Regions from separate parts of the Homo sapiens genome. Here region 2 is linked to region 1. The links are contacts of gene promoters, found by promoter capture Hi-C in blood cells and fetal thymus (Javierre and others, 2016). All regions are on one chromosome and are shown on one strand. The core of a region is centred on a gene start or on the middle of the fragment in contact, and the rest is flanking DNA. Distances in the headings are between cores, read along the strand shown.

Region 1 (7,883 bases), core at 3,683-6,182:
CACAACTTTCTAATAGTTCTCAGCATCAGAAAAGTTGGCAATGAAAAGGACTCTAATCCTTAACTTTTCTATTATAACACACCCTCTGTGAGAGTGAGTACAGGCTCCTGCTATAAGAAGAAAAGCATTTTCTTGGCTCTTTTCTACTGACCATTACTAAGGATCAAAAATGCATTATTAGAATATGAATTATACCATAGCTATAGTGCATTTTTCCAAGAAGTAAACCATCTACTGATGTTCCTCCAAAAAGTAAAATTATCTATTAATGTCCCTAAAAGGGTAAGTTTATCTCTTAAAATGTTGTGAGGTTTTTTGTTTGTTTGTTTTTTTCTTTTCAGACACAGTCACTCTGTCACCCAGGCTGGAATGAAGTGGCACCATCTCAGCTCACTACAACCTCCACCGCCCAGGTTCAAGTGATCCTCCTGCCTCAGCCTCCCAAGTAGCTGAGATTACAAGTGCCTGCCATCAGGCCCAGCTAATTCTTGTATTTTTAGTAGACACAGGGTTTTACCATGTTGGCCAGGCTAGTCTCGAACTCCTGACCTTCAGGTCTCGACCTCCCTAAATGCTGGGATTACAGCTGTGAGCGACTGCACCCAACCAAATTTTGTGTGTTTTTTTTTTTTAATTTAAAAATAACACAAAAGGGGTATGGAAGAATTTTGGGGGATAATGACACTATTCTATATCTTGATTGTGATAGTAGTTACACAATTATGTTTGTCAAAACTCAGAACCATACTCTTAAAAAGGTGAACTTTATGTAAATTCCTCCTTGAAGGGTGACAGAATATGCCACCCCAAAATAAGCCACTGTGACATACGGATTACTCTGAGCTAAAGGCAACTTGAAAAACAGCAGATGCTTCCCTTTTCCTTCTTGAAAACAGGAGATAAAAACTCCTATGTAAAAGATGCCCTCCCTGTAGAAGGAGAAAAGAAACATTTCTCAATAGCCAAGAGAATTCTGTACAAACAGATCTTGTTAAAATAATTCTTGTCTTCCTTTAGCCTCCCTACATAATTTAGTTACTTTTCCACAACTGCCTCTCTTTGTTTAACCCAATACAAAAGCACATAGGTTCTACCATTTCTTTTTTTAATTTTTTCTTTTCCTTTTTTTTTTTTGAGATGGGAGTCTTGCTGTGTTGTCCAGGCTGGAGTGCAGTGATATAATCGCAGCTTACTGCAACCTCCGCCTTCCAGGTTCAAGCGATTCTCCTGCCTCAGCCTCCTGAGTAGCTGGGACTACAGGTGCATGCCACCATGCCCGGTTAATTTTTGTATTTTTAATAGAGACAGGATTTCACCTTGTTGGCCAGGCTGGTCTCGAACTCCTGACCTCAAGTGATCTGCCCACCTCAGCCTCCCAAAGCACTGGGATAACAGGCATCAGCTACCATGCCCAACCAGGTTTTGCCATTTCTTTGGGTCTTCATTTCCTTATGAGGACTCCTGTGTCCCATAAAACTTATTTTAAATTTACATAAGTTTTAATATTTAAAGTATTTAATCTATTTCATATTTAATTCTTAGGCTTAACCAGGGCCCTATGAGGAGAAAGGCAGAATTTCTGCCCCTACTAAAATCTTAATTAAAAATAAAAAACTAATATAAATATGTTAATATTCTAATATGTAAACGTAAAAATTTAACATTATGCCAATAAAAGTACCAATAAGGGCCGGGCACAGTGACTCATGCCTGTAATCCCAGCACTTTGGGAGGCTGAAGTGGGGAGATCACTTGAAGTCAGGAGTTCGAGACCAGCCTGGCCATCATGGTGAAACCCCATCTATACTAAAAATACAAAAATTAGCTGGGCATGGTGGTATGCGCCTGTAGTCCCAGCTACTCAGCAGACCCAGGCAAGAGAATGGCTTGAACCTGGGTGGATGGAAGCTGCCGTGAGCTGAGATCATGCTACTGCACTCCAGCCTGGGTGATAGAATGAGACTCCGTCTCAAAAAAAAAAATAGTCCAGATTCTTTCCTAAGGAAATTATTTTTAAAAACCCCAACAATTTATGCTTAAGGAAATTATCTCAGAGTTATTTGCAATAACAAAAAATTAAAAACAAACTAAATGTTTTGTTTTAAAATCATATAATGCTTCAACAAATTATCCCTTTATGACAGAAAACTATCAATAATTTAGGGAAGAATTTTAATGACATTGCAAATGTTTAAAAATAATGTTAAGCGAAAACTGTAAACTTGTACAAATTGATTCAAACTTTGTAAAAGAATTATAGGTGCACACACAAAAGCCTACATAGAAAGCTGGAAGAAAATATACCAAAGTCTTAATACAAGTAGAATTAGGTCAGATTTCTATCTCATTCATGCTTCTTTTTATTGCTCATGTTTCCTATAGTGTTCCTGAATAGACAATATATTTATATGGTTCAAAATTCAAAAACCAGTATAGACTAGCCCTGATTACTCATGCTCATAGTCCTCACTACTCAGGGAGCTGAGGCAGGAAGATCACTTCAGCCTAGGAGTTAGAGGCTTCAGTGAGCTATGACTGCACTATTGCATTCCAGACTGGACAATAGTGTAAGATCCAGTCTCCAAAACAAACAATATAATAGGGTATGTAGTAAAATATCTCTCTGTCCCCTCAAATATAAGCTTTCTTTCCCACAGGCAACCAAGGTGTTTGATTGTTTTGTAATTCTTTCAGAGATATTTTCTAAGTGTATATATGTTGGAAGACAGAGGTAACACTATTTTCTAAAAACAGAAGCACTGTGTCAAAGAGTATATGTGTTTGTAATCTTGATAATTGAAATTTTTTGAGTTTTGTATTATAATTATATCTTTCTTCCTCTACAGTTATAAAAGAATCCCTTTTTGGCTTCTTGTAATACTTTTTGGTTTTTTTTTAACATTTACATCTTTGATTCATATGGAATTTTTTTGGAGTACAGTGTGAAATATGGATTCAACTAAACTATTTTCTACATACATCCTTCATCATCCCAATATCATTTTTTGAAAAATCCCATCATTTCCTCGCTGGTTTGAGATGCCACCTCTGTAATACACTAAATTCCCATATGTATGTGATTCTATTTTGGGGGTTTTTATGCTGTTTATTGATCTGTCACTTTATGTGCCAGTATCATATTTAAAATATTTTATATCAGAAAATATTTTAATATCCTATAGGTCATTACCTCCTTATTGTTCTTATTTTTCAGACTTTTCCTAATTGCTCTTATTTATTTTACGATATAAACTTTGGAATCAGTTGTCTAGTTCAACAGAAAGTCTTGCTGGTACTTTTTTTTTTTTTTTTTTTTTTGAGATAGAGTCTCACTCTGTCGCCCAGGCTGGAGTGCAGTGGAGTCATTTTGGCTCATAGCAACCTCTGCCTGTTTCTCATTACAACCAAAAACTCCGAATGAATATTTTTTAAAAACTACTCGAGAACCTTGAAAAGTAAACAATAGCAGGTAGATTGGGGACTGAAGTTGAAATCTTAATAACAACCCATTTATTGACGAGTTTCAGTTTGTTTTCGGTTTTTTGGTTCTTTTTTGTCTTTCAGCTTTGAACCATCCAGTGGGCACAGACAGTAAACCTATTTTTATCCAGAAGACCAAGGAAAATGACCCCTGCATGCCAGAAGGTATAGGACAAAGCCCAGGGCTTTATGTTGCTTTCTCTCTCACCTCCCAGCCCTGCCCCAAGGCTGGCCCTAGCCTCAGAGCAGACACCAACCATGGCAACTGGGGAACATAAAACTCAAGAGAAAGTGTCTACCAGAGGAACTGGGAAAAGGGATCGGTATTGCCTGAAAAGTGTGGACAGAATCCCCCTTTTTTCTCTCTTTTCTTAACTCTGTGCTAAAGGCTGTCCCCCTTGTAAGGAACTGCTGTATAGTGAAAAGGCTAACACTCAAAGAAACCTGTCTTTCTGATCATATGAACTGGCAAGTGGGTATGATGAGGAAAGGGGGCAGGAGAATCCTGGAGAAGAGAGAGAGGGAAAGGAGAATGACCTAATTCTGTGTACGATCCAACTTAAGTCCCAGACACAGCCCTGAGCACATATGAAGCAGACCTAGTGGCCTCATCCCTGCCCTCTTTTCCCTGTGTCTAGCACAGAGAATATGTTAGAGAAAGGTTTCGATAACCTGAAATACCGACTTTTTTGGATTCGTATAAAACTATTCGTTTCCAGTTTGGCAGGGACCAGTTTCCCCATCACACATTCTTTTCTTGAGAGAAACTGTTACCCATTTTCCTAGAACTGAGCTACGAGTCTCTTGAAGCAAAATGAAGTCTCCTGAAACAAAATGCAGTTAAGTTCAGACCCAAGATCTTTTTTGCTTGTGCAAAAAGACTTAAAGCCCCCAAAAGGAAAGCCTTTTGAAAAATGCTATAAAGCCACCTAGTACAAACCTCATTTTATCCCTAGCTGGTTGGGGGTAGGTGGGAACAGACTGTGTTTGCTTATTTACAAGCTCTCAGCTCAGGCACGGCTGCCCCACAAGGCTCTGATCCTGCCCACAAGCACATGTTCTGGTCACGATCTCCACTCAAAACTCTGACCCCCTCAGAGGGCACCTGGGCCGCCCTGGCGCGAGGGTTCAGGCACTGTGGCCCTAATGATGGTCACCTTCTCCAGGGCAGCTCCTTTTCTTCCAGGTCGCTCTCCGTCACTGAACCCTCTATCACAGTTTCATCACTGTCCCAGTCTGGGGCCTGGACGCCTTCCTCCATCTTTGCCTCACATTCAAAGTCTTTTTTACCCTCCTCTAACTCCCTCTTGCCCGCAAACAAAAAAACGCTTTGAGGGCCAGGGGAAATTGTGAATTAAAAATAAAAATAATATAATCGCAGCAGGAGCCGGGACTTGTCGCAGGGCTGCTGAGGAGGACGCAGGCGGCCGCGAGCGCGGCGGGGTAGCAGTCTGCGAGGCGGCCCGCGGGTCCCGCCGCTCGTCGCAGACAGGGGGCAGCCGCTCGCCACACGACGGAGCCCTGCGCAGCGCTCGGCCCCGCCCCCAGCTCCCGTGGCCGGAAGTGGGAGGCCGCGCGCGCGCGCGCAGGCCTACTCTGGGCGTGGCCTGCCGCTGCGTGTTTTTTTCACGGTTTCTCATTCTCGGTCGCTAGGCTTTGAGGGTGCTGGGGTTGCTGCTGCAGAGACCAGAAAGGCAGGCGTGGCGCACCCAGAACTCAGACCGAGCCTGCTTAACACCCTTGGCCGGGAGGGTGACCTGCCATGCACCTGATGCTTGTGAGCCCCAGATACGGGAAGAGCTGTCAGCTCCTGCCCGCCCCAGCAGCCCTGGCATTCTGGAGCCAGAATGCGACCTTAGACCTAAAGAGAGTTTTTGCAGCCCACCAAGTGCTTCCTTTCCCTTTAATCCCTTGACAGCCTCTCCTCAAGTGTCCTCTGAGGTAGACAAAACAGATACGTTTATCAGAAGTTTTAGCTCATCAACTAATCTCAGTGATGTATTTTGCATTTTTTTTTTCTCTCAACAACGCTTTGGTTACCTGAAATACAGATTATGCAGGAAAGGCAGGATAAATGCTTTATTTTTTCCTCTTTTATCAATTTTTATAATAATAGTAATGCCTAGCAACCTCCAAAAGTAGTCAATTGCGTTTTAATGAAGTACTAGAATTTTATATATTTGATGTGTTTCAGTCTAGTTGAACATTTTTAATTCAAACTAATTCAAAACAAAGCCAAGTGAGCTTCCACTTGCCAAGTGAGAAGAAGATTCAAGAAAAGACCAAGTTGTTTTCCCATAGCAAGTGTTTAGTATTCACCTTGGAGTCTCCAGCATCTAGCACATATAAAGTCTAAGTTTTGTCATAAATGGATGGAGCTAGAGATTTCTGACTTCCCAATTCATTGCCCTTTTCACTATATGGAGTAGCTTTGCCATTATTATCATTATTATTATTTTGTGTTTTTACTATGTATATTCAAGCCACTGCTATTTAAAATGCTTGATTGGTGATTATCTTCTAAACTTAACTTGAGGCTGGGGGTGGTGGCTCTACCTGTAACCTCAATGCATTGGAGGCCGAGGCAGGAGGATTGCTTGAGACCAGAAGTTCAAGACCAGCCTGGGCAACATGGTGAGACCCCTATCTCTGCAAAAAATTTGTTTTTAATTAGCAGGGCATGGTAGCATGGGCCTGTAGTCCCAGCTACTCAGGTTGAGGCGGGAGGATCGCTTGAGCCCAGGAGTTTGAGGTTATAATGAGCTATGATTGAGCAAACGCACTCCAGCCTGAGCAACAGAGTCATACCATGTCTCAAAAAATAAAAAAATAAACTTACTTGAATAAGTAACTTACTTAAATAAAATTCCTCGCCTCAACTCTGTAAATTAGGCAGAGCAATAATAAATATGCAAAGAACTAGACCTCTTTTTTATTTTTTTTAACAGTAGTCCATTTATACCCTCCGTGTCTAAATCAGACCTAAATTCCTATCACCTTTCCTGCTCACCCACTGTTTAATTAATTCATTAGCGCATTCTTCTGTGTTGCCCAAGCTAATCTCCAACTCCTGGGCTCAAGCTGTCCTCCCACCTCACCCTCCCAAATAGCCGGAACTACAATCTCATGCCACTATGCCCACTTCACCCATTCTTTTAATTATCCAACTCTGCTTTCACAGGAATTGGGGGATGCATACCCAGTAAATGGTGGTGAGTGGCTCCATTTGCCCCAGAGGGAAAGATGACTCCACTAGTAACAGTACTTGCTCCAAACAGCTGGTAACAAGCTAAGTGCAATAAGTCCTCACTTAATGTCTGTCGGTAGGGTCTTGGAAACTGCAACCTAAAACAAAATGACTTACAAGGAAACCAATTTTACCATTGTCTAATTGATATATATGAGAGTTAAGTTCTTACAACATATTTCTGGTCACAAAAACATTACCAAACTTGTAAATAAACACCAAAACACCTTTACTATTAAACATTGAAATAAACGTGAGCTATATATATATTTATTAAATATATATATTTAAGAAATATCTTAAATATATATCAGATATTTATTAAATATATATTTAATAATAAATATTTAATATATTTAATAAATATCTAAGATATATATTTAAGATATTTCTTAATATATTTAATATATATAATAAATATCTAAGATATATATTTAAGATATTTCTTAATATATTTAATATATATTTAATAAATATATATAAGAAATGTCATATATATTTAAGAAAGATTAATAAAAATATATATATTTAAGAAAGACTAATAAAAACAAATAAGATAATTATTTACCTAGTCATTCCAGTTCAGGGTTGAGAGTGGCTGGAGCCTATCCTGGCAGCTCAGGGCTCAAGGCAGGAGCCAACCCAGCACAGGAGGCCATTTCATTGAAGAGCGTGCTCACTCACACACACACACTCATTCTGAGACCAGTTAGATAAGTCAATGAGCCTAACATACACATCTTTGGGATGTGAGAGGAAACCAGAATACCTGGAGGAAACATGCTGACATAGGGAGAACATGCAAACTCCACATACACAGTGGCCCTGGCTGGGAAGTATAATAATTTTCTTCCCTCATCAGTGTTGAAACACCATTGAAATAAATGTTATTCGAGGATCTGCTATAGATAAATTCACATTCTTCTGGGCCTGAAATTCACATTCTTTTTAAAAATGCTTTCTCTTTTGGCGGGAAAAAGTCAGTTATTTTTGCATCATCTGTTCTCCTTTTATTTAAGAGAGTTGCTAAGATTCAAAGAATGAAAAAGAAATGGCAGAGATGAGCCTCATAAATGCCAGTGTGATTTTAAATAAACCTTTTTTTGTTTGTTTTTATGAAATCCAAAGTTTCAGTGCAGGACAGAGGTGGAAAAAT
Region 2 (7,883 bases), core at 5,099-7,598, 270 kb after region 1:
AATCAAAATTCAAGTGTAAATTTTAGATGAAAATATATCTACATTCATATAGAGAGATAGTCTTTGAGAGAGAAACACCTATCTAAACAAGTAAATACAGAAGCCGTAATAAAAGATGTCAATAAGAGTATGTAAAAATCTAAGATTTCTCTAGGGCCTAATATAGACTATAAAACAAGCAAAGAAGAAACAGACAAGTGACAATGTGGGGGAAAATATTTGCAACAAATGTGCCAAATGGTTAATTACCATATGAAGAGTTTCTACAAGCCAAAAAGGAAAGAAAAACCAAAAAAAAAGTGCATAAGCAATTGGAAAAGGAAAAAGAAATAAAAATGGGCTATAAATTATTAAGTTACTCAACCTCATGGATAAAAAGTGCAATTTAAAATAATAAGATACCATTTTAATGTAGCAGTTTGACAAATACTTTAACATTTGCCAAACCCAACTTCCTCAATACTTGCGGGTAAGGAGAAACAGAGGCACTCATTCACTACTGGTAGGAGTGAGGAGTGGTACTCTTGAAGGAGTATTTGACAATAACTAAAAACAAATTTTAAAGTACATATTTGTTTCAATAATGATTGTAATAAAAATTAGGCATGATTTAAATGTGCAAAAACAGGGTCCAGGCAAATAAATATAATATATCCACACGATTCAACAGAATATAACAGTTAATGTGTAAGTTGTATTAAAACAAGGTGCAGAACAATAGGCTTAATATGATACCATTTGTGTAAATATTTATGAAAGATATAAACAAATCCTTGTATAGTCCTACATATTTTCTGAAAGGATGACCAGAAATTTAAGTTTGGTTGTCCCTCAAGTGCAAGACTAAAAAGCAGCATGTACTTCTTAAACTTTTTAATGCCACAAATTATATTTTTTATCATGTGCACTTTATTTTAAAAATAGAATATAAAAAGTAAACAGTGTAAATATTCCATAAACATTTGCTTTTAATTGAAACAATTACAACTAACATATTCAGAATATCTACTATGCGGCAAATTTTGTAGCAGGGGCTGGGTCTTCTAAGTATCAAGCTATAATAACTGAAGAATTCAACTGTCTTTCTACAAACACTTATTCTACATACAAATAGCTCTTTTTACACAAAGTAAGGGAATACTATTTTTCCTCTCACCTACTTACTGTCAATCCTTTCACATTAAGGAATAAATTCTCTCAAGACATACTTTCTTCCTTGAAATTATTTCACCCACTTTATTATCACACAGATAAAGAATATTGTTTTTATAAATTAAGAGTGATTTAATCATTAAACTAAGAATGAACTTAAAATGGATTAGGCTCTATCAAGAAATGTGGGTTCAGATGCTAGGTCCACCAACAAATAATATAGTAATGAATGGTTACAGTAAAGTCACATCAACTCTTCAAGCCCAGATTTCTTTGTACGTGAATATTATCAATTTCATAAGAGTGCCATATAAAGAAATTAAACATTTACATTCTTTGTATTCTGACATGAAGTGACAATAGGCATAGCCCATATTTAAGGAAAAAAAATACCAAGAGATGCCTATTAAAATTTAATGAGGAATATTACTATTACATTTATTTATTTAACTAAAGTACATACTCTAATTTGTAAACTCATCCTGAGTTCACTGAATTCAGTTATATTTTTAATTTCCTTTAAATATGTAACATGGAGTCTGTGAACCCAAAGGGCAAGGAAAGTTCAAGTTCAATAATATAAATGCTTGTGTTTTTTCCTATCATCCATTTCATTGTATCTAAGACTACCACACAGATTTTGTTGCCTAATTCATCTTTTTACTTCTACTTTTATCTCTCCTTCAAAGAATTCAAATTGTTTCTTGTTCCTACGCATGTCTTTTACTATGTACCACAATGAAAGTTATGCATGTACATATAGCTATAACAAAAATCAATTACAATAAAGTAACACTGTTTTCTTCCTGAGAAGATGGATATAAATGTTAAAATTTAAATTTTTTGTTTAATTTAAATTAAACATTTAAATTTTTTGTTTAATTTAAATTAAACATTTAAATTAAATGTTTAATTTAAAATTTTCTTTTCTCCAAATAAGCCAGGCAACATTATTATAGTCCATAATTCAAGACAGAATAACTATATTTAAATCCACAGAAACTAGCATGGTACTCTAGGAATACTACTACTTAGAGAATAATAAAGATAAAATTTAATTCCTCCCCATTTTTACATCAATCATTATACTATTTTCAAAGAGTTAAGCATTGCAACTAATAAACATCCAATAATAATACGCAAAAGAAGGGGAGTGGAGGATCAAGGAAAAACACTTCAAGATCGCAAGGTACATTTCAATCCACTATTCTGTCCATTGATATGAATAATGATCTATCTCGGAAGAAAAACACCCAAAATATTAAACTAGATACAATTTCTAAACACATTACAATGTACCACATACCAGTCAAAATAAATACTGAGCCTTTATGTTAAAGCTATTTCCTAAAAATTGTCTCTAAGAATAGAGAGCGTAGTTTCATTATCAACACTTCCAAATATTTCTTCTGTGTTTCTCTAACTTGATATTCAATTCTAAACTTTTGTTTTCAAACTTTGAATATACAAGGGGGGAAATAATGTATAAAAAATAATGTAAAAATACTGTAAGATTTTCCCTAAATGCATAACAAACATACGCTAAGTAAGGATTAGATATTAACGGAAATCTGAAGTATTATATATATATCTTTCACTTTTATAAGCCAAATAAATTCTATCACAAAATGTGACTTCTCTTTGAGTGAGTTAGTAAACTCTGTATTTTTGTTTTAACGTACCCATTTTCAGATTTTAACTACAACAGCTCCCTTAACTGACCTCTATTTAACTGTCTGGCCTTAGCCAACACTTTTTTTTTTTTTTTTTTGGCCCATGGCATGCTGACCATTCTTAACCAGTATGCTATTTTTTGTATTATCAGGTACTTCTGTTCTCACTAGTTGGGTTACATGCTTAACAAGTCAGTTGGTTGTTCCCAAACCTGTTTATGCCAGTTTACTTGTTATAGTTCTTACATATCTTAAACATTATTCATGTCTAATGACTACGAGTGCAAAAAGGAACAGTTGTTTCTATATACTAAGTTAAATGTAAACTAAGTAGGCCAGGCGCGGTGGCTCATGCCTGTAATCCCAGCACTTTGGGAGGCTGAGGTGGGTGGATCACTTGAGGTCAGGAGTTTGAGACCAGCCTGGCCAACACAGTGAAACCCCATTTCTACTAAAAATACAAAAATTAGCCGGGCGTGATGGCACGTGGCTATAGTCCCAGCTACTTGGGAGGCTGAAGCAGAAGAATTGCTTGAACCTGGGAGGTCGAGGTTGCAGTGAGCTGAGACCACAGAACTGCACTCCAGCCTGGGTGACAGAGCAAGACTGTCTCAAAAACAAAACAAAACAAAACAAAAAAACAAAAAAAGAACAACAAAATGTAAACTAAGTAGAATGACTCAACGAAGGTGAGTTATTCTTTTAAAGGGTGTTGAATTGGAGAAAAGTGATGTAACTGCAAAATATAAGGGGAAATCATAAAAAGTTAGAAGGAGCCTATACTTAGAGTTTTTCAAAAGTTATCTTCAGGCTTTTATTCCACATTAGAGAAATCAAAACTGTAAATAGCAAATCATGTGTGAGGAACATGAGAACAGCTTCTCCCAACTCCACAAAGAGATGGCATTAGCTCAATGTTAAAAAGTTTAAAAATGAATTTACATTTATATTTTTAAGTTAAAATTTTAGAATGTTACTTACAAGATGTATTATTTTTAAATATTCAGTAACCTACAAAGTAACTGTCCCAGCCTCAACAAATAAAAAGGCTTCAAACATTTTTTTTTCCTGAAGCCCTTAAACTGGTTTGATATACCCACCAGATAAAAACTACATGTCTATGCAAAATAACAATATGTAGTAAAAACCACAGTAAAATCACTTTATGGAAAAAAGTATTAGAATGTATATTCTACAAGGACAAGGATCTTTATCTTATCCACGGATGTATCCTGAACACGTAGAACAGTTCCTGGTATGTAGCTGACACTCAATAAATATTTGTTGAATGAAGAAGAAAAGGAACTTACTGTGATGACAGCCTTGCTAAGACAGATGGATCCTCTGCAGCCATACTCTGTTTCATCTTCAGATTTGTAGTAACTCAGAGCATTATTTTTCAAAACTACCCAACGATCCTGCCACCCATGAATGTAGTTTGTCCACTGGGAGTGGGAAGGGGAAGGGAAGAGAGAAGAAAACAAAAAATAGAAGTATTTTAGAAATCCAAACTTTGTGAAACAGCAATCTAATTTTAAAACCAAAACGTGAAAAGTCCAACTTAATTCTAAGCATAAACAGTAAAATGATTACAAAAAGTGAAAAGTTGAGATTTTCTAGATTGCATAATGATTTTCAGTAATTTTTACAATATTATAAATAAATCTGTAAGAAATAAAATATAACATTTTCTTCTAACATTTGAAGAATAAAACGAAAGCCAGATTTTGGTTAAAATTATTGTTTATTCTTCGTATGCTTTCATCCTCTCCTAAGTACCTTCATGATATTTGTTTTGGTCCTTGTCATAATTAACATATTCAACAGAGAAGTATGTTCAGTTATGTATGTAGTCTCTCATTCTGACACCAAAGACTGCATGAAGCCTTCTAAATCAACGGAAGTATAAAGTCAATTATTGCTAAACTCTACTTTTGTTGTTATTCCTATATGAAAATTTATAACAGCTGTAACTATATCAAAATAAAAATAATAATCTTTAGTAAGCTGGCATCAACTTTAACTTTTCCTCTACAGAACTGAATAATATTAAAAATGGCCAATACATTTTCCAAGTTCCTCTGAACATGCATTTTTCAAACTCAAGAGTAATAAAACAAAAATAAAATTGCTTTTCAAAAACATATTGGATTGTCTTCAATACCTTAAGAGTTTCTGTGTTGCTAAAGTCTTGCTGCAAAGTGAAGATCACAATAAACTGGAAAAGGCAGAAATGTAACCTTTACAGGAATACTTATTTTTGCATGTTTTTATCTATGCTCTGGGGTGTTAAGTATAGAAAAATCTCAAAAACTATCTGCCAATTCCAAAAACTAATTAAAAATGGATTGCCAAAATATACTGCATTGGCTCAGGCTCTATATCCACTGAGAAATCTTTTATTTTTCTGTTCTCTAATTAAGCATTTTTGAGATTGATTCACTTCTTAAATTTTCTTTTATTTAGTATTTTCTTGAGACAGGGTCTCGCTCTGTCACCCAGGATGGAGTGCAGTGGCACCATCTCAGTTTACCGCAATCTCCTGGGCTCAATCCTCCCACCTCAGCCTCCCAAGTGATTGAGACTACAGGTGTGCACCCCCACATCTGGCTAATTTTTTGTAGAAATGAGGTTTCGCTATGGTGCCAAGGCTCGTCTCAAACTCCTGGGCTCAAGCGATCTGTCTTCCTTGGTCTCCCAAAGTGCTGGGACTACAGGTGAGCCACCATCCCTAGCCAGTTCTTAATTTTTCTAAGCCCCATCATTACAACCACTCTCTGAGAACTCACCCAAGCCAACATTTAACTCATTCTAGTGGCTCCCAATCACCATTTCCTTATTTCTAACTGCTTGAGATGTACCACCACTTAGACACGGGCTTGAAATAAATGATAGTTACCAATAAAACTGAATTCACCTTCCTATAAAGTATACTTCCTTCCTATTTTCCTACTTCCTTGGGGAGACTGCTACTTCTGCTCAGAGTTAGTGTATTAGATATACAAACAGATTAGTGGATATAGGATAAAATAGGCTCAACTATTTTATAACTCATGTGAAGAGAGTTTTGACAAGTTACTTTTGTAAACTTCAGTTTCTTTGCCTGTTGACTGACGGCCGAATAAAATAATGAAAATGCCTAGCATAGTCACAGAAGATACTCAATACCTAAGTGTTCCTTCTCAATATTTATAGCCCATTACCAAAAGCTGCTCATCTTTCCTTCATAGTAAACCCTTAAATTTGCCTCCTCTTCTCATTTTCAACTATTCCAATCAAATTATCCAGTTCCTGTATTCCTTAGGAGACTTAATAATTTTTTCTCTAGTATCTTCTGTTTTTTTCATAATTTACACAAGCTTATTTACTTACTAAGCATATTTGCCTACTTTTCTTACATTGATCGTATTGAGTCTCTAGCTCCAAAACTTACATGGACAACTTCCCACTGACTGTCATACAAATTGTTTAGGGCATTCAAGACCCTTCATGGATTAATCCTACCTCATTTACAATTACCACACTTCATAAGGCTAAACTTTGTGACAGTGGTCAAGTTACTTATTCTCTTTGTGTTCTTTTTTTCTTTGTCAAATTCTCTTAGAGTTAAGTTTAAACAAGAATAGACTTAGAACAGTGCCTGGACATAGTATTTTCTGAATCTGAGGAAGAGTTATACATAGCTAATGAAGCTTAACCTTCAGCATTTCTCACTAGAATAGAACTCTTTCAATGTTAGAGGAGAAGCCCCAGCAATTATGTATCCATAACTTAATATTAGTTCTTATAAGAGACTGAACAAACTGTATCAGCTTCAGGACCCTTTACTCAGTAAGTATTAGCTGTATCATGACACCTGGAAGACAAGTTTTTTGTCTTTTCTCTGCTCTCATAATGTTCCCTCACTCTTCCCCATTTAACAAATACAGATAAGGCAATATGCTAGACACTGCAGGGGAATCAAATATTACTGTGGCCAACAGGCCAGCAGACACAAACTCAAGAGAAAAAAATATATATTTAGAATAAGAGTCAGAAGCAAGCTACAAACAAAATGCTATGGGAATTCAAGTGAAGGAGGTCTTGAATGATGGCAAAATAAGAAAAGGCTTTATGGAAAGGACAGTATTTGGCTTGGACTCTTAAGGATGGACAGAATTTCAAACAGTTTGGTGTGTGGAAAAACAGAAGGTAAACCATGAAGGATGGAGGAAATTCAGAAATTGAATGAGATTATTTTATCCAGGCTTAGGTGCTCTCAAGTCCTACTAAGGCATGCATCTTTTCCCCACCATGATCCATCACGATACTTGCTATAACTAGATAGAATTATTGTCTATCTAGTATTTTTGGAATCTATACACTTAAGTGATTTATAAGAAATATGCTTCATAGGTATTTCCATGTATTTCAGATTACCATATGGAAAATACCCTTTGAACTGGTATATTTCTAATATAAATTTACCCAAGCCCATTCCAAATCCACCCCATTTTGGGGGAGAAACAAAATGAATTGTACCGGGACTTATTTACATTACTCAATGGAAGGAAAAGAACAAAATCCGAGTTCTGACCTTTGTTTAAATTACCAGGTGAATACAAAGAATTCAAACTATATAATTTACATTTAAAAACATCTACCATACTCAGTATGAGTATATATACTCAATTTAGAATACCCTTGATTAAAAAGCTTCCAGAAAACTGTATATAACCATAAATTGGTAAATCTCAGGAAAATTTCCTTCATAGCTTTGAGCAAGAATACCAAAAGCTTTATTCCTATTCATTCTACATATGCAGCAACAGTCAAAATTTAAGCTATTCACCTTCCATAGAGGTGATCAAATACATTTGTATGCATTTAAATATCGAGATTGGTCTTCCATTTTTTTATCTATAGTATACCTACTCCAGAGCACTGGTTACTTTTTCCCCCGGTCACTCCACTCCCCCAACCCCCAAAAAAGTAATTATCAGTAGGTCAAAAGTACAATTTGTTTCGTAAAATACTTAACACATCACAATACTAATATGGCAGTCAGCTTCCCATCTT

Evidence for each region. The method cuts DNA at HindIII sites, captures the fragments that hold promoters and counts their contacts. A CHiCAGO score of 5 or more calls a contact.
Region 2: a fragment that was not itself captured here is called in contact with the fragment with the promoter of ANKRD31 in region 1 in 1 of 17 cell types (neutrophils); the score reaches 5.5 in neutrophils.

What each region holds. Positions count from the first base shown.
Region 1 is chr5:75,231,946-75,239,828 of GRCh38, forward strand. ANKRD31 (ankyrin repeat domain 31) reads right to left here and starts at 4,933. Exons shown (of 26, transcript NM_001372053.1): 1 at 4,638-4,933. The coding sequence starts at 4,741. It overlaps LOC124901006 (a long non-coding RNA gene), which reads left to right and starts at 5,093. Exons shown (of 2, transcript XR_007058823.1): 1 at 5,093-5,421. RefSeq lists an enhancer at 4,654-4,823 and a silencer at 4,874-5,173. The HindIII fragment of the contact is 5,895 bases long and covers 2,641-7,883 here.
Region 2 is chr5:75,501,847-75,509,729 of GRCh38, forward strand. It overlaps CERT1 (ceramide transporter 1), which reads right to left. Exons shown (of 17, transcript NM_001379029.1): 2 at 4,136-4,270. Among named protein-coding and RNA genes, the nearest start is that of CERT1, 5.8 kb to the right of the region's middle. The HindIII fragment of the contact is 333 bases long and covers 6,183-6,515 here.